Linked DNA regions of Homo sapiens: all the other regions are linked to region 4. The links are contacts of gene promoters, found by promoter capture Hi-C in blood cells and fetal thymus (Javierre and others, 2016). All regions are on one chromosome and are shown on one strand. Each heading gives the region's core, a stretch centred on a gene start or on the middle of the fragment in contact. The rest is flanking DNA. Distances are from core to core; before and after follow the strand shown.

Region 1 (2,700 bases), core at 137-2,636, 410 kb before region 4:
GACAGCTCTTATCCATGCAGAGGAATCTTATGTAAATAGAGGCTTATTCAGGGCAAACCTTTTTTTTTTTTCATTTTTACTGTTATGTTTATTTTCTCTGTAAGTGCTTTGTGAATGCTGTCCCTTCAGTTTATTCTTACAGCAGGACAAGGAAGTGAGTTATTTAAAACTAGGAAGCTGGCTGGCATGGTGGCCCATGTTTATAATCCCAGCACTTTGGGAGGCTGAAGTGGGCGGATTGCTTGAGCCTAGGAGTTCAAGACCAACCTGGGTTACATAGAGAGACTCTGTCTCTACAAAAAAAATAAAAAAAGTGTTAGCTGGGCATGGTGGTGCATGCCAGTGTCCCAGCTACTTGGGAGGCTGAGGTGGGAGGATGGCTTGAGCCTGGGAGGTTGAGGTTGCAGTGAGCTGAGATTGCACCACTGCACTCCAGCCTCAGCAACAGAGTGAGGGGCTCTCTCTCTCTCTCTCAAAACAAAAACAAAAAAACAAAAACAACCCCCTGCCCCCACCACCAACAAACCCATGCCTTACCATTCCTCCTCCCCAGGCAGGATTGATGGAAGTCAAGAGCTAAAGAAGGGAACAGAATCTTAGCTTGCATTGAAAGAAGCACAGTGCCCCCATCACAGACAGGAAGGGGCTTCTTATTAGTTCTGGTGCACATGAAGCCACCTTAAGTATCCTATCTTAGCAAGGCACTGTAGTTTTAAGAGGTCCATTAACATATTAAAGTGGGTGCAGAGAAGATTCCCGGAAACCATCTGTACTGAGGACTGGGAGAAACAACTGGGTCTATCTAACTGGGAGGTTGGTGTCTGTGAATTCCACAGTATTTTCTAATATTGGAAGGGTTGTGATACAGAAACCAGGGGAGTGTGTGTGTTTTACTATGGAAGGCCAGGCAAGAGCAAATTCATCGCAACTCAGTTCCCATCTGCTGAAGGCCTGCCAGGGCCACAGGCTGATGGACACAAAGGCAGGGAAGACAGGTGGTAACAGTGCTCAGTGGGGAATCTCAGCTGGGGGCAGGTGTCCAGCCGTGGAAGGGGCAGGACCTTGAGACCTGAGGCTGAGAGGCCCCAGTTAGGGTTGCTGTTGTGTCAGGACTGCAAGGATTCTGAGAATGCACATGGATGCAAGTGTCTCTCGACTGAGTGAATAATGTGTCTTTTTATGTATATGTATTACCACTTTCAAATGTATATGACTATGAACTGCACTTTTATTTAAAAGTGTTGCTAAATTCATAGTAAAAAATGTATATTCTCAAAGGATACTGGAAGTATGAGTTCTGACATGTGTGAAGGTCAATGTAATTTTTTGTGTGTTAAAAGGGGCCTTCACAAGCAGAGAGGTATGGGTGCCATGCCATGACGGACAGGTGACTGGGCCTCCTGCTGCTGACCACAACTTCACTGATCCTTTAAGAGGAGTTAGGCTCCCATGAAATGGAGTGGAAGGCACGAAAGCTAGATCCTTGAAGACCTTCCTTGGGTCAGGGTGGGGTCTTGCTGGCCTGGGCAAGTTAGGAGATTTGATGAATCGCCTTCCATGGGGATCCTGAAGAGTAGGAGTGGCCAGGTGAATTCTGCCTCGAGGTAGAGGAGTGGACTGGAGAGCCTCCTGGCCGTAGCACCCTATGAGTCTCGATTTTACACATTGCAATCCAGTGACTCACTCTTTTCTCCAGGGAGTAAACACTTAGGGCGCTTAGTTAATAAACTTCAGATAATTCAAGTGTTGGGGATGACTGTAAACCAACTCTGTTTTCTCAAAGTGTTTATTAGGCCCTACAAGTTTAGAGGGATGGGCCCAACCAATAAGAATTTCAACTCACTGATTATCTCCTCCCCTTCCACCACTTCCTTCACTCACAGCTCTGATCAGAATTGACAATCTAGTCCCACGAATGTATTCCCCAATCTTTGTTTTGCTCCCTGTCCTCTCAAAGGTCAAGCCATGTCTTCTCTGCTATCCCAACCCCAAGAGTAAGTATAGATTATGCCCTTCTTCCTTTTTCTTCCACCATCTGCTGGGGAGGTCCCCGACCCAGGACTAGCTGATGACAGCAGTGGTTGTGATGTTGCTTCTCAAAGATTCTTCTCCAAGATAATTCCCTCTAAAGGAATGACAAGCATGGCTCAGAATCAGTGGGCTCTGGCAATGACTAAGATCTCCCCCCATTGGGGCACTAAGTACCCTGAATCACTATGGGTTTAGGAATTCCTAGAGACTCATTGCCCTGGACTCTAGACCCCACACCAGACCAAGCAGCAGCCTCATTTCTGTCTGGCATAAAGGCAGGTCCTCCATCCTGCTCTCTTAGATATTATAAGGAAAAATATGGTCTAATTTTTGTGATATGTTTCCTTTTTTCTTTTTCTTTTGTTGAGAAGGGTCTTGTTCTGTTGTCCAGGCTGGAGTGCCATGGTGCAATCATAGCTCAGTGCAGCCTTGACCTCCCAGGATCAAGTGATCCTCCGACCTTAGCCTCCCAAGCACCTGGGTCTACAGGCACATGACACCACACCCGGCTAATCTTTGTATTTTTTTCATAGAGATGGTGTTTTGCCATGTTTCCAAGGCTGGTCTGAAACTCCTGGGCTCAAGCAATCTGCCCACCTCAGCCTTGCAAAGTATTGGGGTTACAGGCGTGAGCCACCACATTTGGCCTTGTGATATGTTTCTTAAAAC
Region 2 (2,700 bases), core at 145-2,644, 430 kb before region 4:
CAGTAGTGGGCATGTGGTGTTCCAGTTTACAGGTGAGGCGATTCACGCTCACAGAAGTGACCTCTCATGCTGTAGTCATCCAGCTGGCTGGAGGTGGGTCAGTAGTGTCCAGGGCTGCAATTTCAAGCCCTCTGTCCTGTCACCCCAGAAGCTACCTCCGTCCTACTCCTGCCTCCATCACTCGCCAAATCTTACTGCTCCTCCCTCCATGCGTCTCTTGGTATCACCTTCTTTCCTCTTCATCTCCACAGTTCTCTACTTTGAGTCTGGACCCCACTCCTCAAGCTGTACCCAAGTGATTCCCCAATTGGCTGGCCTCTCAACCCTGCACCTCTCAGGCCCTCCCCACCCTGCTACCAAACCAGTTGGCCCGACCCGAGGCTGTCACCACTCCGCTCCCTTCCTTGGCAACCTTAGGGCTCCTGGCAGTTGCTGGGATGCATCCCACACTCTTCCGGCCTGATCACTCTGTCCTCCTCAGAGGAGCCCCGAAGAGCCCTGAGAAAGCTTCCTCCAGGGCTGTGGAAGGCCAGCAGAGGGATTTTCAGCCAAACCCTAACCTCCAGCTTAGGAACACAAAGGCCTAGCGGTTTAGGGTCAGCTCTGCCTCACCAGCTTGGGTGGTCTCTAGCTTCCCTTCTCAGACAGATGGAGTATAGTCCACCCCATGTACAACACTTTGAGGAATACTTGCTAATGCTCACTGAGTGCCAACTGTGTGCCAGAACTGCTGTCAAGCCTTTAACTGATTCTCTTCACAACAGCCTATAATATAAATACTATTATCATTCTAATTTTGCCTATAAGGAAAATAAGGCACAGAGTGGTTAAGTAACTTGCCTAAGGTCACACAGCTAGGAAGTAGCAGAGCTAGGTGTGGAATCCAAGCAATCTGGTTCCATAGCCCAAGCTCTTAAGCACCAGGTTATTTTGCTTATATAGAAAAAGGAATGGAGACCTGGGGATGCTGGAGCTAGAAGGGGCATTGGATGTAATCGACTCCAAACTTTTTATTTCATAGATAAGAAAACAGGTTGAGGAAGGGGAAGAATGTATCCAAAGCCACGGTAACTTAGTGGCAGTGTTAAAAAAAAAATCAGTTTTAGTGAGATCATAGGCCAGGTGTTGTGGCTCCTGCCTGTAATTCCAGCACTTTGGGAGGCTGAGGCAGGTGGATCACTTGAGCCCAGGAGTTCAAGACAAGCCTGGCAACATGGTGAGACTCTGCCTCTACAAAAAAATACAAAAATTAGCTGGGTTTGATAATGCATACCTGTAGTCCCAGCTACTTGGGAGGCTGAGGTGGGAGGATCACTTGAGGCTGTTGAGGCTGCGGTGAGCTGTGATTGCACCATTGCACTCCAGCCTGGGTGACAGAGGGAGACCCTGTCTCAAAAAAATTATATTTAGGGCTCAAAAACTGAACAATAGAAACTTTTGATTGTCATGGAAAAAAGCCTCAGAGATTATACTGCAGCCCAGGGGGGCCCACCAACAATAATGCGCTGCTTAGACATACTTGTCGAAGGAGGGGAATGGCCCAGACCCAGGGGTTTCCAAACTGAGGACCCTAAGGGCTGCTTTCAGGGGTGCAGGGGGAGGTCAGCAGGTGAGAAGGATCATGGTCCCTCCTCTGCACCAACTGGATCATCTCTCCTTATCTGTTTTACTCATGAGGCTGTGCACGTGATTTTGTTTATGAGGGTGCTTTTGCTGCCAGAACATGCTGGGAAGCCCCTGCCTGTATATGCCTGGGGTAGGAGGCCAGCAGGGGCAGCTCTCCGGCCCGGGGAAAGAGGAGCCCCTGGGTACAGACCCCCATACCTGGCTCTCAGGAGTGCCCGTCCTCTCATTGCCCTCACTGGCCTCTCCCTAAAACGCTGATGGCCCTTTTCTGCAGAATCTCTGATCCCCGTGTTGTCTCTGGTTCCCCAAGAATGACTCAGGCCCGGTGGGGCAGTTGAGGTTGGGTGACCGAATGGAGTGAGGGTGCCCGCCTGGCCAGGGAGGGCAGGAGCACTTTCCCACACCACACAGTGGGTTTGGAGATGAGAGTGACAGAAGCCCTCAGGATCCCTTAATCCCAGGGCTGAATGTAAGGGCTTGCCTCCCTTACCCAGAAAGCCCTGAGCAAACACTCCCTCCGCCTGGCTCCACACCCCTGTCGGCTGCTCATCCCTCTGTGAAAAGATTGGGAACAGCTGCCAAACAAGGAAGGGTCACCGAGGGCAGTAGCAGAATCTGCGTGTGGAGGTCTGGGGAGGGGCAGGGGACAAGCTTCCAGCTGTGGCTGCTGGGTAGTGGCGCCTTGTTCAGCCACCTGCCTCTGGCCCACATATGAAGGCAATGTCTTTCCCCGTTTTCAGGGAAAGAAACTCATCTCTCTTTCTCTCTCACTCTAGGGTGTAAAGGCGCTCTTGCATAGGAAGTTCTTCCTTAGGTCTACCTTCGGTTTCTCAGGCTCAGTTTGAAGATTTTGTGAGCTTCTTGCAATTCTGATTTAATAATAAGGACACAGAATGTGGCTCTAGACTAGAACTTTCTTCTTGTTTGGATTGGGTTTATGGTAGGGTTTGTCATGAAATTAATTTGGATTTAGTTAATTGGAGGATACAAAACTGGCCCCTCAGGACAGTGTCATACCTTATTGGGTACTTGTAAGGACAGGGCCACATCAACCAAGCAACTGACCATGTGCTG
Region 3 (2,700 bases), core at 100-2,599, 400 kb before region 4:
GGAGAATCTCCTGAACCTGGGAGGCAGAGGTTGCAGTGAGCCTTGATTGTGCCACTGCACTCCAGCCTGAGCAACAGAGTGAGACTCCGTCTCAAAAAAAAAAAAAAAAAAAAAAAGTGAAAGAGAAGATTGTGGCTAATCATTCCTGTGGGCCAAGTGGTCAACTCCAACATCTAAGACCCAGCAAGCAGCTAAGCTCAGCGCAAACTCCTGGCCTCTTGCTCTTTCTCCAACAGGGTGAAGACCTTTTACATTGCAGATGATGGAGCGGCTCTTGTCATCTATAAATTCCATGCACACCCATGTGTTCTGTCCCTGAGAGACTGTCCTGACCAGTGCCTTGGTGGCCCTGGCTAGCATGGTAGGTTGCACATGGCTGGTGTCCAACCTATCATGTGGTGGTCAGGTGGAGAGAATATTGGTGGGTTCTTTACATGTCAAAGTGGACTTTTCACTTTGGGATGGTGTAATTTGACTTGCTGAAAGTCTATGCAGAAGAAAAGCATTCACGAATTTACGACAGGCTTTGGGATTGGACAGTCTGATTAAAATCCAAGCTTGCAAGTGAATTGACTTGAGGCAAGTTAATTAACCTCATGCCCTTATCTGTAAAATGTGAATGAAAATTCCTACCTTACAAAGTTTTTGTGACAATTAGAAATGACACATGTAAACAACCTGTCAGTGACTTGTATATGTTAGGCAGTCAATGTTAGCTGTTTTAAAATTCTATTCACAGATGGGCAATAGGAGTTAAGATTTGAAAGAGGAAATTGTTTTCACTGAAACATAGTCCCCACACCTCTAAAAAGTATGTAGTAGATCAATAAGTATTTGCTGATTGATAGATTGCATTACTGACGAGGCCCTGTAGTGGGAAAATGGCTTGGCCAGACATGGGAAAATGGCTTTTATGTAATTCTCAATACAGACAGTATGATTCTTTGCAACTTGTTGCAAAATAATCAAAGACTTCACTGTTGCCTTGACCCTAAACTGGGCTACCCCTTAGAACTCCTCCTTCCTCTTCAGCTTCCAAACTGACACCTTCTAGGAGGGCTTCCTACATTGACATCATCATCACAAGGGCTGCCAAGTGTTGAGCACCTGCTTTGTGTAAGGGTTTTCCAACTTTACCTCCTACAGTCCCCACTGCAACTCTATGAGGAGGCTGTGCTAACTCCCATTTGCTGAATGGGAAACTGAGGTCCAGAGGGTAAAATGTCTTGCCTGATGCCATGCAACTGGAAAGTGGCAAGGCTGGGATCTGAACACAGGCTCGTCTAATTCCAAGGCTTCCATATTTTCCACTCTTTCAAGCTGCAAGGGAAGAGAGGAGGAGATGAAGTTATTTGAGTTCCAGAAAATCCAGCATGCCCATGAAATATCCACGGTTTTTGGAAATATTCAGCCAAATCCATTTATTGGTGAGAAATATTCATTGACAGGAGAGCTTGTCTTTAGAGAACCTGTTCAGTTTTCGGCGTCCCAGTGCCCTTCTTGCTGCATCTTCAACCCCAGGCCTTAGTCTGCTCTCAGTTTCCTGCTATCTCACTTGGAGCAAGTGCTTTCTCTCCAGGGATGAGGAGCTCACTTGGAGCAAGTGCTCTTTCTCCAGGAATGAGGATGTCTCCTTATGCCCTAATCCTCTGATTGGTCTATCTGCACTGGTCTATCTGCACATTCTCATCCATCCTGGATGGCTAGTTGGACTAGCGTTTCCCGAGTATACTTGACAGCATGTTAGTAGATGTTAAGATAGAAAGATTTTGTTGTTAAATTTGGGAAGCTGTGATTAAATTAAGGCAAAGACATTATTTTCTATAGGACTTCTTTGGGCTTTTAATATACTAAACAACTTTACTAAAATCCCAGGAAAGAGCTATAGATTTTTCATTTCCCAAATTTATGTAATCACAGAACCTTTTAATCAGGGCCATCTTGGGAGATAGAATTCTGCCCTGCATAAGCCCTGGGAGAGATCCAAGTACCAGATAAAGAATGAGGGGTGAGCTGGTGTGTATTTTAATCAAGTGTAGAGATAAGACCAGAATCAGAACAAATTGTGGTTGCTAACAGCTAAGACCTTAGTAACATAAGGACTTAGTTGTACTTAGATGTTTGCTTCTTTATCAAGCTTTCACTATAAATCTTGCTCTATATGGTAATTATTTTTACTGTTCATTGGTTAAAATTGCTTCACTAGTGACAAGCTTTTATTTCAACAAGAAAAGAATGCTAATTCCTAGTCCAGGGGCAGCATACCCAGAACGTTAATTATTCTTTTTTTATTTTTGAGAACAAATTGGTGATTATCTTGAAAATGGGATCTGCGAACCTCCATGGAGAAAGAGGCAGCAGCCATGGCTCCCTCATCCTCAGCAGATGGTGGTGGAGAGGGATGACTGCTCACTTTGGCCAAGGATAATGACTACTGTCTCATGATGCATTCCTCCACTCATAATTATGTTACAGGCAATCTGAAGTCTTCTCACTGCAGTTGACTACCAGAGAGCAATTTGGTTAGAGGGAATAACTCCTTGGTTTTAGTGCCCCCAATTTTATAGGTGGGGAAATAAAAATCCAGGGTGCTCAGCCATCTGGCAAGCTTTACACAGAATGTTCTGGCAGTGAGGGATTGGAACTCAGATTGCTGGCAGTAGGCAGACCCTTTAGATACTGTTCTGAAAGATCCTACAG
Region 4 (2,700 bases), core at 36-2,535:
CTGGTCAAAAGCATACATCCCCTTCCAAGTGGAATTGCAAGCATCCCAAAGAATCTCAAGCGTCCAGTCAAACATGAGTTCCCCTGGGCAAAGGATGCACTAGAATAGAAAAGGTAAACACCAGCCTGGCTCAGGGTCCTAAAAGAGCTGCAATATTGCTAACAATGATAATATTCAGCTGCTGAGAACTTTTCCTTTTCTATCCAGATGTATATTGCTTTGTGTCTCTCTATCCTAACCAAAGATTCATCAATAATTCAAGGAACCTAAATGGACAGGCCCATAAATCACACCTATGGTATATTTGGGGGCTAAAAATCATGTAGTTAGCTTTCTATACAGAAACTTTCCAATGCTTTGGCCTCAAATCATGCCACAAAGTGTTGACTGCTGGAAATCCTCAAGATAAATGTTCTGCTGGGCATGGTGGTGGATGCCTGTAGTCCCAGCTATCTGGGAGGCGGAGGCGGGAGGATCACTTGAGCCCAGGAGTTCAAGACCAGCCTGGGCAACTAGATCATGTCTCTAAAAAAAAAAAAAAAATTTAAGATAAATCTTCCCCTACTACCATGAAGATAGAGACTGTCTTTGTAATCTCTGTACCCTCAGCAGCAAGCACACTGCTGGATACATAGCAGGCACTCTAAAACTGTAGAATGAATGAATATCTCTGAGTGTCTCAAATCACAGATGTGTCTACACTAGCCCAAATGAGCTTTACTGTAGATTCAACTCTTGTATACTAAACAGCCATATTGGATAAAACATGGCAGAAGGTTTTTTGATGATTTAATTGATTTGCAGAAATGCAACAAACTGTATTTTCTCCATATCACTTCTTACTTGGAGATGTGCACACACTCCCACCTCTTTAGGGGGTTATATCTTCATGGATGCATCCCATGTGAGCCTCTTGCTGGAGCTGTCGCCATCCTAACTTTCTGGTGGTTAGCCACACTCACAGTGAAAAAACCTATTGCATTTATGACCAAAGCAAATTAATGTCCCCTTAATGGCAATTGTGGTAGACTTATAGGGAAAAAAAAGACTATAATGTTTATATGTTTATGTGTTTTTAATGTTTATTGGTTTGCTGTTACAGCCCTCATCCCAATGAGACTAGGTGTGTCTGAGTTAACTCATTGTCAAGGAGGTTATAGGCATGCAGAGTTTCTGCTAACTACCCAAGCTCATAAATGCCTGCAAATGGATTTTTTCATTTTTATGGGGCCAAGCCTCAGATCACCACACACATAAAAGGGGTGCAAGGGTTCCACTGGCCTCAGAGGGACTCCCAGCTCCAGCTCACCCATTCTACACTTGCTCTTTTGCTCCCAACCAGGAAGCCATCATGTCTTGCCGCTCCTACCGAGTCAGCTCTGGTCACCGGGTGGGCAACTTCAGCTCTTGTTCAGCAATGACACCACAGAACCTGAATCGCTTCCGGGCCAACTCTGTCTCCTGTTGGAGTGGGCCTGGATTCCGGGGCCTTGGCAGCTTTGGTAGTCGGAGTGTCATCACCTTTGGATCGTACTCACCCCGGATAGCAGCTGTAGGCTCTCGGCCCATCCACTGTGGAGTCCGCTTTGGTGCTGGCTGTGGGATGGGTTTTGGTGATGGGAGAGGTGTTGGTCTGGGGCCTAGGGCTGACAGCTGTGTTGGTCTGGGCTTTGGAGCTGGCAGTGGCATTGGCTATGGCTTTGGTGGCCCTGGCTTTGGTTACAGAGTTGGAGGGGTTGGAGTCCCAGCAGCCCCATCTATCACAGCTGTGACTGTGAACAAGAGCCTACTGACCCCCCTCAACCTGGAGATTGACCCCAATGCCCAGAGGGTGAAGAAGGATGAGAAGGAGCAAATCAAGACCCTCAACAACAAGTTTGCCTCCTTCATTGACAAGGTACCTATGATAGCTGAATCTCTGGGTCTAGGAATATTACAGCCAAAATGCGCTAGAGTGCTCTTTCCCTTAAAAAGAACTGGCCCGGTTCTGGGGACTTGACCTTGACCTCAGATCTTTCAAGTGCCTACCTCAGGCATTGTGGTATGCTTTATGGGTTGCTCTGCTGCAGAGCAAGGCCAAGCCAGAGGACGAGCTGCATGGTGGGATAGATTCCGACAGTGTTGATATCTTCTGGAGGACAGAGGAGCATCCAGCCAAACTCGAGGGCATCTCGACAAACTAAGATGTTGCATCTGGTCACTTAGAAATGTCTCTGAAACAGGCTGGAAACACTGGGACTTTAGCCAGGTGTTGGCTGGTATATGCTTAAGAGGTTTTATTCTTTGAGATCCTTTTGTTCCTTATGAAGTTTTCATAGTTTCTGAGGCTGAGTGGCCTCATCTATTCAGGCTTAGAAAAGTAGAGAATGGAGTTGAGTAATTAAAAAAAGAAGAAGAATTCATACCCCCACATGGGGTATCAAAATTCGGCCAAGTTGCCTAGATTCAGGGAAATTGCAGGGAATGACCACTGGTAGTCACTGGCTTCCAGGCAGATGAGTGGGAACAGTGATGTGGATAACCCAAAAGAACTGACATCCCACACACCATGTCTATGTGGAGATGGAATGGTTATGTCTGAGAATGAAGGATAACCTCTGTAAGTTTTGGGTTCTTCCTCTCTAAAATGAGGGGCTGGGGTAAAGGGTCTGTAAGTTCTCTTCCAGCTCTACACATAGCCAATGGAATATCTGCGATGTT
Region 5 (2,700 bases), core at 41-2,540, 280 kb before region 4:
GTCCTAAATGGGTGAGTGGGTGGGGGGCATGCCTTATTTATTTCTGATTATTTCCGACAAAATGGGTTAAGAATCCCGCAACAAAACAACACATGGGGTCCTTCATTTTGGGCCCCTTGGGTGAGGAATGTTGTCCTAGAAAAGCACATTCAAAGGTCTGAAATGTGCATTTATTGGCTCTACTGGGTGTCTTTTCACCTGCCTAGACCATATTTCCTTCGGTAAAGGGGTTATAATGGAGCTGTCTCTGGCAGGCTGAGTTCAACTGGCCATCAGGAGTAGCTATGTCTGACCAATCCTGGGCCAGGGAGGGCCCTTGGTGACCATACCTACCTAGCGAGACAAGTAACTAGCAAGGTGAGCGGATAGGGACTGGGAGGATTTAGGGCCCAATCTCTTAGGAAAGACCTCAGGGGGTAGCAGTTCTCCTAAGTGGGGTCCCTGGGTGGGGTGGGAATATAGTCTATCACATGCTTCACCAGTGGAGAATTTCTGATGGGGCGAAAGTGGATGTCACAACAGTAGGTCCTAGGAGAACTGGACAGGGAAAGCTAAGTCAGGATGGCCTCGCCTCTGAGGTCTTTCTAGGGATGCCCTGGGATTCTTGACTTCAGCAAGTGCCTTACTTTTTACTAGGGAGATGAGCAAAGGGCCGTCGAAATTCAGCCACAGCCATAGACAGGTGCTGCCAGCTATGCCCTTGGGACGAGTGGCCTTTGGGATAGAAGACTGGGTGTCATCTCTTTAAGACCTGTCCTTAAGGTCACCAAATATAGAACAGGATGATTAAACATGCATGAGGACATCTGACCTTAGTTTAAAACCTTGTTTGGTATGATTTCTCCTCAAGACAGCTGTCCTTTGCCCAGACACCTACAGACATAGAGAAGATTCTCCTGAGGTTGCATGGGACAGAGGCCGGGCCCTGTTGGGGTGAGCTGGATGGAGGCAGGCTGGAGGCAGGTGGCAGGGCCATCAGAGTCCCGGCTGAGAACGTGCACAGGACACCTGTCATGGGCATCTGTTAGAGGTTGAGTGTCAACCAGTTTCTCATCTGGGTCAGGCTTAGGGGAGAGGGTACTGTCATTCTCCAAATACACCAAACTTTTACACATGTTTATGCTGTTAGGTCTTTGCAAATGTCTCTCCATTTTCCTGGAGTTCCTTTCTCCCTTTTCTGTGTGTAGACTCGAATTCATCCTTTAAAAGCCAGTTCATAGTTCCTCCTTCCTTGACTCCTGCCTCACTTTTCCATTTATGTTTCCTTGCTTCTGGCATATGATGTCCAGCGGTGTCCTGGAACCCTCCCGCACCAGCTTATGAAAGCCAATTGCCTGCTTTTGTTCCTAACTCCATGTTCAGTAACACCGTGTTGATTGCTTGAGATCAACCATGGTAGGTATATTTACTCCACAGAAATGAGTGCCTATGGAATAATGAATTTCTTGAGGACAAGGACTGTGTCTTCTTTACCTTTTCATCCTGAGGATGCAGCAGAATGTGTATTCTACTGCAGTGATTAGTGAGTTTTTGTTGGTCAATGAACTGGACAGAGTAAGCACTGGAGGAATACAGGAAGGAGGGGGCCACATCACACCAGGGTCATCAGTCAAGGGGAGAGAACATCTGAGTTGAGTTGGGTCTTGGAGGGTGGGTTGATGGTAATTTGGGTGAAGTAGGTGGGATCCCTGGGGATGTTACCAGTTCCAATGCAAGGGAACTCTTGTTTGGGAAGAAGATCCCGTGAGGCAAGCTCCATCTTGGCTTGTAGTCACCTGTCTGCATGCAGAGGTGTGCATGAGACAAGGTCTGAGGTGAGGCCATCTTGCCCCTTCCCTAGCTCTAGGTCCTTAATTAACCTCAATTATATGGACAGTGGGAAAGTGTGTGGCAAGGCAGGTTCTTAGCTTAGCTTTCCAGACCCAACAACCCAGACATTCCTACCCTCCACATTCCTACTCTGTATGCAATGGAGTAGTTGGTTAGTCCCTCTTGTTATCAGTCTTAAGTTTCTGCTAATGCCAGCACAGTTGATTTCCTTCTGTTCTACACCTGGTGGAGCTGGAAGAGCATTTTAGGCAAATGGAGAACATGATATCTGCCTCCATGTCCCTGAAGGAAGAACAAGCTGATCCTGTAGTTGTAACCATTCATTATTAGCATTCACAGATGAACATTTGGTTGTCTTCATTCACACTGTGCTAACTACTAAGGTGTGCTTGGGATCGGAGAAACCCCGCTGGGTTCCAAAGGGAGTGCCCTGTTTTTGGCTGCCTTCTTCTCAGTAATCCTCTCTCTTGGCTTGGTAATGGATAAACAAGGTTTCCATGATGAAGACATAAGGCTTTGAGGAAAGGTGGTGTGGCAGGAGCCTCATGCCACCTCATTGGCACTTCTGACCTGCCATGTGGCACCATGGAGGGGTGCACAGCTGGCAGGACCTGGGCAAATGCAGTCTGTCCTATAGCAGGACAGTCATCAAGCTGTGGTTACTAGGAGTCTGATAAAACAAGGATTGGACCATCTTGCCCCTGTAACCACCCTATTAGCTCCTTTCCTGGCCATCTGCAGGGATGTGAATAGGAGGAGCAGTTGGTCTGATGCCTTAACAGCCCTGGGGGAAGTGTGGCAATGACAGATTTAGAAGTTGTAAAGGACACAACTCCTATTTGCTTCCTATTTTCCATTATTATGGGTAAT
Region 6 (2,700 bases), core at 80-2,579, 320 kb before region 4:
GGCCACAGTTTCCTGCTTATGGTGACTTTCTAATTTAAGGGAAGCTGGATGGAAAATGCAGTTTGGTTAATAGAAATTTACTTTTGTAATAATGTAATAATTGCTAAAGTAGATGATCTCTTGTTATTTGCCTGACATGTGCTGAGCTTTTTCTGAATTAACCCATCTAATCTTCACAGCCCTGTGAGGTAGGCAGTGTTATGGCCTCTGCTTCACAAAAGAGGAAATGAAAGCGCAGAGAGATGAATGAACTTATCCAAGGTCATGTAACTAGAAGGGATGGCACCAGGATTCAAACTCCAGAAGGCCTAACCTCAAAGCCCTCCTAAATTGCCCCATAAAGCAGAAGATAAGATAGTACAGCAAGAAACTCTCAGGCTTTGGAACCCAGCTGCTAGGTGTAATCTGGGCCCACTCCTTACCAGGAGTGTGTGACCTTGAGCCACCCTCCAGACCCCTCACCCAAAAGTCATCAGTAAAATGCAGTTGTGTGGATGGAATCATGTCATCTGTTTAATTCTTGGCACATTGTAAGAGCTCAATAAAAGGTCATTACTAATTATGGCCAGTGTTTCAGGAACCTGTCTATTCTTTAAATGAAGAGAATAATACACTGCAAATTCCTTATGGTTATAAAGCACTGTAATCTCTCCCATCATGGTCAAGTGAGACACGAACCTGGAATTGATGGCAGGTCTCATATTACCCTCAGGGACTTGGAATGCTGGTCCCACCCCACCACTAACTACCCCTGTAACCTTGAGACTGGCCCGTCCTCTTTGATCCAACATATAGAAGCATTCTCTGCCCAGACAGCACCATTCCTCCGCTGGGACCTCACTGTTTCTTTTGGAATTCAATCCAAGTCTAACCTGTAGCCTTATTTTCCTTTGGGGCCACACCTGCCTAGCTGCTCCCTTTGCTTCAGAGACAAAAGAGTTGCCAGGCTGAGGCACAAGAATCACTTGAACCCGGGAGGTGGAGGTTGCAGTGAGCATTTCAGCCTGGGTGAATTATAAACAAATAAATGGTTGTATAAATAAATAAATAAATGATTGTATAAATAGTCATGACTTCCAGTATGTTGGATGGAAGAGCTTTGACACGCTTGGCACAATATTGTCTCTGGACCTTTGCCGTGGGAATTTGCAAGCTGCCCTTAGTGAGGCCTCTAGACAATATCCAGGCCCAAAAGCACCTATTGGGTTTGCCGAGAAGGAAGGAGACTGCCCGATTCTTATGCTCTAGGCAGACACTGAGATTCTAGTTAAAGGGATGTCAAAGTGGTGTCCAGGCTAGTTTTGGGCCTCAGTAGGAGCTTAAGGCCCTAGGTGTTGCCCCAAACACACACCCCAACCCAGAAATCAGAGGATTCACCAGGGATGTTCCTGTGTGCCTGGCACCACCTTCTCATGCCTGCGTGCAGGCTTGTTAGAGATTGAAGGTGGAACGCCCCATATAGTCATCTCTCCCAGGCTGCAGGAGCACAGAGGCACCTGGGAATTTCACATAGGCCTCCTTATTCTTTCTGAATTCGGGGGAGGGTAGCCAAGTTCTCATTCTATCTGCACCACCAACTTTTTTGGGTAACTTTGGCCAAGTCCCTGTCTTTGTACCCATTTCTTCCTTGTAAAATGAAGGACTGGGCTGATACCGTCCATCATATGTTTGGCTGTGATGCTGTTACGCAGGAAGAAGAGTGGGCCAAGGGTGGGGAAGCCAAGTCTAGCAGCTTCTATTCAGCTCCAATAGGTTTCTCTCCGATATGTGTCACATCACTGCCTCCCCTGTGCTGACGACAGGTCAAAAGGCTCTCATTTCAAGGAGGTTAAAGGCCCCCATTCCTAGACCGGGGCTGCAGCTCTCCACTCTCTTCTTGGTGGGGACTGGTGAGTGAGAGTCTCTCTCCCTTCCTTTTTCCAGCCCCACGCCCCTGACACACCTCTGTGATATCCACCTCCAGACCCTGGGAAATGTAGGGTGAGGTGGGGGATAGAGCTTTGGGAGCTGCTCCTGCTGGTCATGCCAGCAGCTCTTCTGAACCCTGCTTCCCGCTGCTGTCTGGAACTGTGATCCAGGTGGCTGATAGTTGCTCTGGGCCTCACCTTCTTGGCAGCCCTGGGTTTCAGTAACTGGGAGATGGGCTGGGTGAGCTGCAGCCTTCAACTAACTTCCCACTTTCCTTTTAAGGTGGCAGGTGGGGAGAGGAGGAAGCGGGCACATCTCTCTCCAACGACCCCATCTCTTCTGCAATACATGTAGGTTCTGAAGTGGGAATGCGCGGGTTCAAATCTCCATTCCACTATTTTCATTAGTGTATTCTTTGACAAGATTCTCTTTCCAAGTCTCACTTTCTCCATTTGCAAAATGAACATAGTAAGAATATCTTCCTTATGATGTTGGTATTTAGATTTCACGAGACCTTCCATGTTATAGACAGCACAGTGCATGGTCCATGGAAATCACCTGGTGAAGTTCACTATTATGATAATGATTGTTACTCCTATCTGTGTCCTTAGACTGAATGGAATCTAAAGAGGCTGTTTCATTTGTCCTGTTTCCTCCAGGTCAGTGGTCTCCAAACTTGCTGCACATTAAAACCACCTTTTAAAAATTCTAAAGTCCAGACCATAGCCCCAGACCAATTAAACTCTACTCCTTAGGTGTGGGCCCAGGCACCAGCGATTTTGAAGCTTTCTA
Region 7 (2,739 bases), core at 132-2,631, 290 kb before region 4:
AACATTTTCCAAGACTTGCATGTGCCAGGAGCCAAGGACTCAGAGTGATAAAACAGGCCTTCTGCCCTCAGAGCTCTCTGTGGTGGGGCGCTTCCTGTGCTGTCTGGCTTTACACACAGCAGGCAGAATGACTTGAATTCGGCTGCTGTGCTGTCGTACAACATGCTGTTTAGGATCTTGCACATGATAGCTAGGTATTCTTGCTTCAAATCGCAGGCACCCCACTTACCAACTGTGTAGACTTGATCACGTTATTCAACCCCTGTGTCTCTGCTTCCTCATTTTACAAATGGGGAGAAAAATAGCATCTATCTCAAAGTTGTGAAAATTAAGCAAGTTAATACATATGTGCTACGTAGAACAGTGCCTGGTACATGGTCAGTTTTTGATACATGTTAGGTATTATCATTATTATCACCTCCAGAAACAATTTAAACTTCTCATATAAGGCTCTCCAGACACCTCTCATTGTCTTCCCTTCCAAATCTGCATTTATCTCTCTCTCTTTGCAGTCCAGTGTGAGGCTTGAATCACCTATCAAGCCTCACCTCCACCCCTGTGCTTTACAAAATGTCCTAGAGCTTCTATTTACTCGTCTCACTGCTCTGTGGGCTTTTTCACTCAAGGGCGTTTGCATGCTATCCATTGCTACCTGTTTTCTATTGCTGGTGTCTGTCTCCTGCTCTATCTTTGAAGAAAAGAAACAAGAAAAGGAATAACTGAGAAACAGAGAAAAAAAATGTCTCTCCCTTCTGGTTCTTCCAGACCACCCACTCATCCATCTTGTTCAATGACAGCTTCTCTTCCTTTAATTAATCACTGTGGTATATTTATAAAGCTTATATTTATGAAAGACCTTTTAATTTTTTAGTTATTAAAGCCCTTTCTCTTTGTCAGGTTGTAACTGAGTGAGCTCTGGAGTTTGGAAAGAAGATCTTAGAAATGGGCCAGAGAGCTCCTTCTGAGATCCAAGCACGGGGAATTGCACCTGCTGTGCATGGTAAGAGAGTGTGCTTGGTAGCTCACAAAGGCAAGGTGAGAATAGAAACTTTCATGCCTTTTTGATGGGGGTTATGAAATCCTACCAAGAAACACCAGGTATCAGATGTGGGGTCCTGTTTTCCCAAAGCCACAAATGCTTGAAGGAAGATCTTGTGTGATAAAATAATTACCACATGAACCAATCTTGCATGCACAGCAATTTTGAGAGCCCATCCTGGGAGCTAGGTGTGTAGTGTTTATCGTATTGTTGAGGCTCGTAAAAATCTTGTATGGCTGCAGGCAAGCCAAACCCTTGACAGGCACTGCATCTCCGCTGACTCTAGAAGACCAAGCCCAATTTCTTCCCTGTATATAAGGGGAAGTCTCTATGCTTGGGGTAGAGGAGTGTTTAGCTCCTTCCCTTACTCTACCTTGCTCCTACTTTTCTCTAAGTCAACATGAGTCGACAGTTTAGTTCCAGGTCTGGGTACCGAAGTGGAGGGGGCTTCAGCTCTGGCTCTGCTGGGATCATCAACTACCAGCGCAGGACCACCAGCAGCTCCACACGCCGCAGTGGAGGAGGTGGTGGGAGATTTTCAAGCTGTGGTGGTGGTGGTGGTAGCTTTGGTGCTGGTGGTGGATTTGGAAGTCGGAGTCTTGTTAACCTTGGTGGCAGTAAAAGCATCTCCATAAGTGTGGCTAGAGGAGGTGGACGTGGTAGTGGCTTTGGTGGTGGTTATGGTGGTGGTGGCTTTGGTGGTGGTGGCTTTGGTGGTGGTGGCTTTGGTGGAGGTGGCATTGGGGGTGGTGGCTTTGGTGGTTTTGGCAGTGGTGGTGGTGGTTTTGGTGGAGGTGGCTTTGGGGGTGGTGGATATGGGGGTGGTTATGGTCCTGTCTGCCCTCCTGGTGGCATACAAGAAGTCACTATCAACCAGAGCCTTCTTCAGCCCCTCAATGTGGAGATTGACCCTGAGATCCAAAAGGTGAAGTCTCGAGAAAGGGAGCAAATCAAGTCACTCAACAACCAATTTGCCTCCTTCATTGACAAGGTGAGTTTCTCTCTCATTGCACTGGTAGGGCTGCCGCTGGTCCACTTGGGATTGGTGCAGTCAAAACACAGTAGGTTTGAACCTCAAGTTTCCATGTTTACATGATTAAAAGGATGTTTTGTGGAATGGTCTCCTAGGAGATATGTTAGATGTATGCTTGTGAATGGTGTTAATGACTCTCTCTTTGACAAAGGGTTCGTGGTCGACCTAAAGGTGGGTCAGTGTGACATTAACATTTAAGTGCTTTTTATTCAGCTCTTGAGCGGAATTGGGACTCATATCTGTTGAATGAAGATAATAGAAATGGGGCTAACTGAACTTTCCAGGGTGCAAGTGAGAACCCTGGAAAGGTCTTCCTAACCATAGAAAGGGAGTTGAGTGTGAACATAGTATAGAGTGTTATTGTAGCAGAAAACATGTGGTCAGTCAGTGCCAAACATCTTTTGCTGTCAGAGGGGAGCTCTGCCTTCTAATAATTTTACATTGGTACTGGATGAGGCTAGAGTTTTTTTATACTAATATCTCCAAAAATCAGCTCTAAAAAACTCAGATAAACCATTTTTTTAATTTTTTGCTTAATCATTAATAGTGCCAATCCAAGGTTATCCACAACAAATTTCAAATCCAATTTTGAATTTTCCTGATATACTTTTGAAATGTGTGTGTGTCCTGGGGATGCAAACCAGTTTTTATGGTAATATACCTAACA

Evidence for each region. Contacts are between HindIII fragments. The CHiCAGO score rates a contact against its expected background, and 5 or more counts as called.
Region 1: a fragment that was not itself captured here is called in contact with the fragment with the promoter of KRT84 in region 4 in 3 of 17 cell types (non-activated CD4 T cells, endothelial precursors and M0 macrophages); the score reaches 6.6 in non-activated CD4 T cells.
Region 2: a contact is called between a fragment that was not itself captured here and the fragment with the promoter of KRT84 in region 4, in 3 of 17 cell types (endothelial precursors, total CD8 T cells and M1 macrophages). The highest score is 5.6, in endothelial precursors.
Region 3: a fragment that was not itself captured here is called in contact with the fragment with the promoter of KRT84 in region 4 in 3 of 17 cell types (endothelial precursors, total CD8 T cells and M2 macrophages); the score reaches 6.3 in endothelial precursors.
Region 5: a fragment that was not itself captured here is called in contact with the fragment with the promoter of KRT84 in region 4 in 1 of 17 cell types (M1 macrophages); the score reaches 5.6 in M1 macrophages.
Region 6: a fragment that was not itself captured here is called in contact with the fragment with the promoter of KRT84 in region 4 in 1 of 17 cell types (endothelial precursors); the score reaches 5.6 in endothelial precursors.
Region 7: the fragment with the promoter of KRT1 here is called in contact with the fragment with the promoter of KRT84 in region 4 in 2 of 17 cell types (M2 macrophages and M1 macrophages); the score reaches 6.4 in M2 macrophages.

Annotation. Positions count from the first base shown.
Region 1 is chr12:52,798,312-52,801,011 of GRCh38, reverse strand. No RefSeq gene overlaps it. Among named protein-coding and RNA genes, the nearest start is that of KRT3, 3.5 kb to the right of the region's middle. The HindIII fragment of the contact is 5,805 bases long and covers 1-2,700 here.
Region 2 is chr12:52,818,073-52,820,772 of GRCh38, reverse strand. No RefSeq gene overlaps it. Among named protein-coding and RNA genes, the nearest start is that of KRT4, 5.3 kb to the right of the region's middle. RefSeq lists an enhancer at 2,053-2,554. The HindIII fragment of the contact is 1,770 bases long and covers 510-2,279 here.
Region 3 is chr12:52,780,337-52,783,036 of GRCh38, reverse strand. No RefSeq gene overlaps it. Among named protein-coding and RNA genes, the nearest start is that of KRT76, 4.3 kb to the right of the region's middle. The HindIII fragment of the contact is 1,580 bases long and covers 560-2,139 here.
Region 4 is chr12:52,384,237-52,386,936 of GRCh38, reverse strand. It overlaps KRT84 (keratin 84), which reads left to right and starts at 1,285. Exons shown (of 9, transcript NM_033045.4): 1 at 1,285-1,897. The coding sequence starts at 1,352. The HindIII fragment of the contact is 9,508 bases long and covers 1-2,700 here.
Region 5 is chr12:52,662,910-52,665,609 of GRCh38, reverse strand. No RefSeq gene overlaps it. Among named protein-coding and RNA genes, the nearest start is that of KRT2, 12 kb to the right of the region's middle. The HindIII fragment of the contact is 6,496 bases long and covers 1-2,700 here.
Region 6 is chr12:52,708,497-52,711,196 of GRCh38, reverse strand. No RefSeq gene overlaps it. Among named protein-coding and RNA genes, the nearest start is that of KRT77, 6.3 kb to the right of the region's middle. The HindIII fragment of the contact is 2,732 bases long and covers 1-2,695 here.
Region 7 is chr12:52,679,049-52,681,787 of GRCh38, reverse strand. It overlaps KRT1 (keratin 1), which reads left to right and starts at 1,381. Exons shown (of 9, transcript NM_006121.4): 1 at 1,381-2,030. The coding sequence starts at 1,440. The HindIII fragment of the contact is 12,025 bases long and covers 841-2,739 here.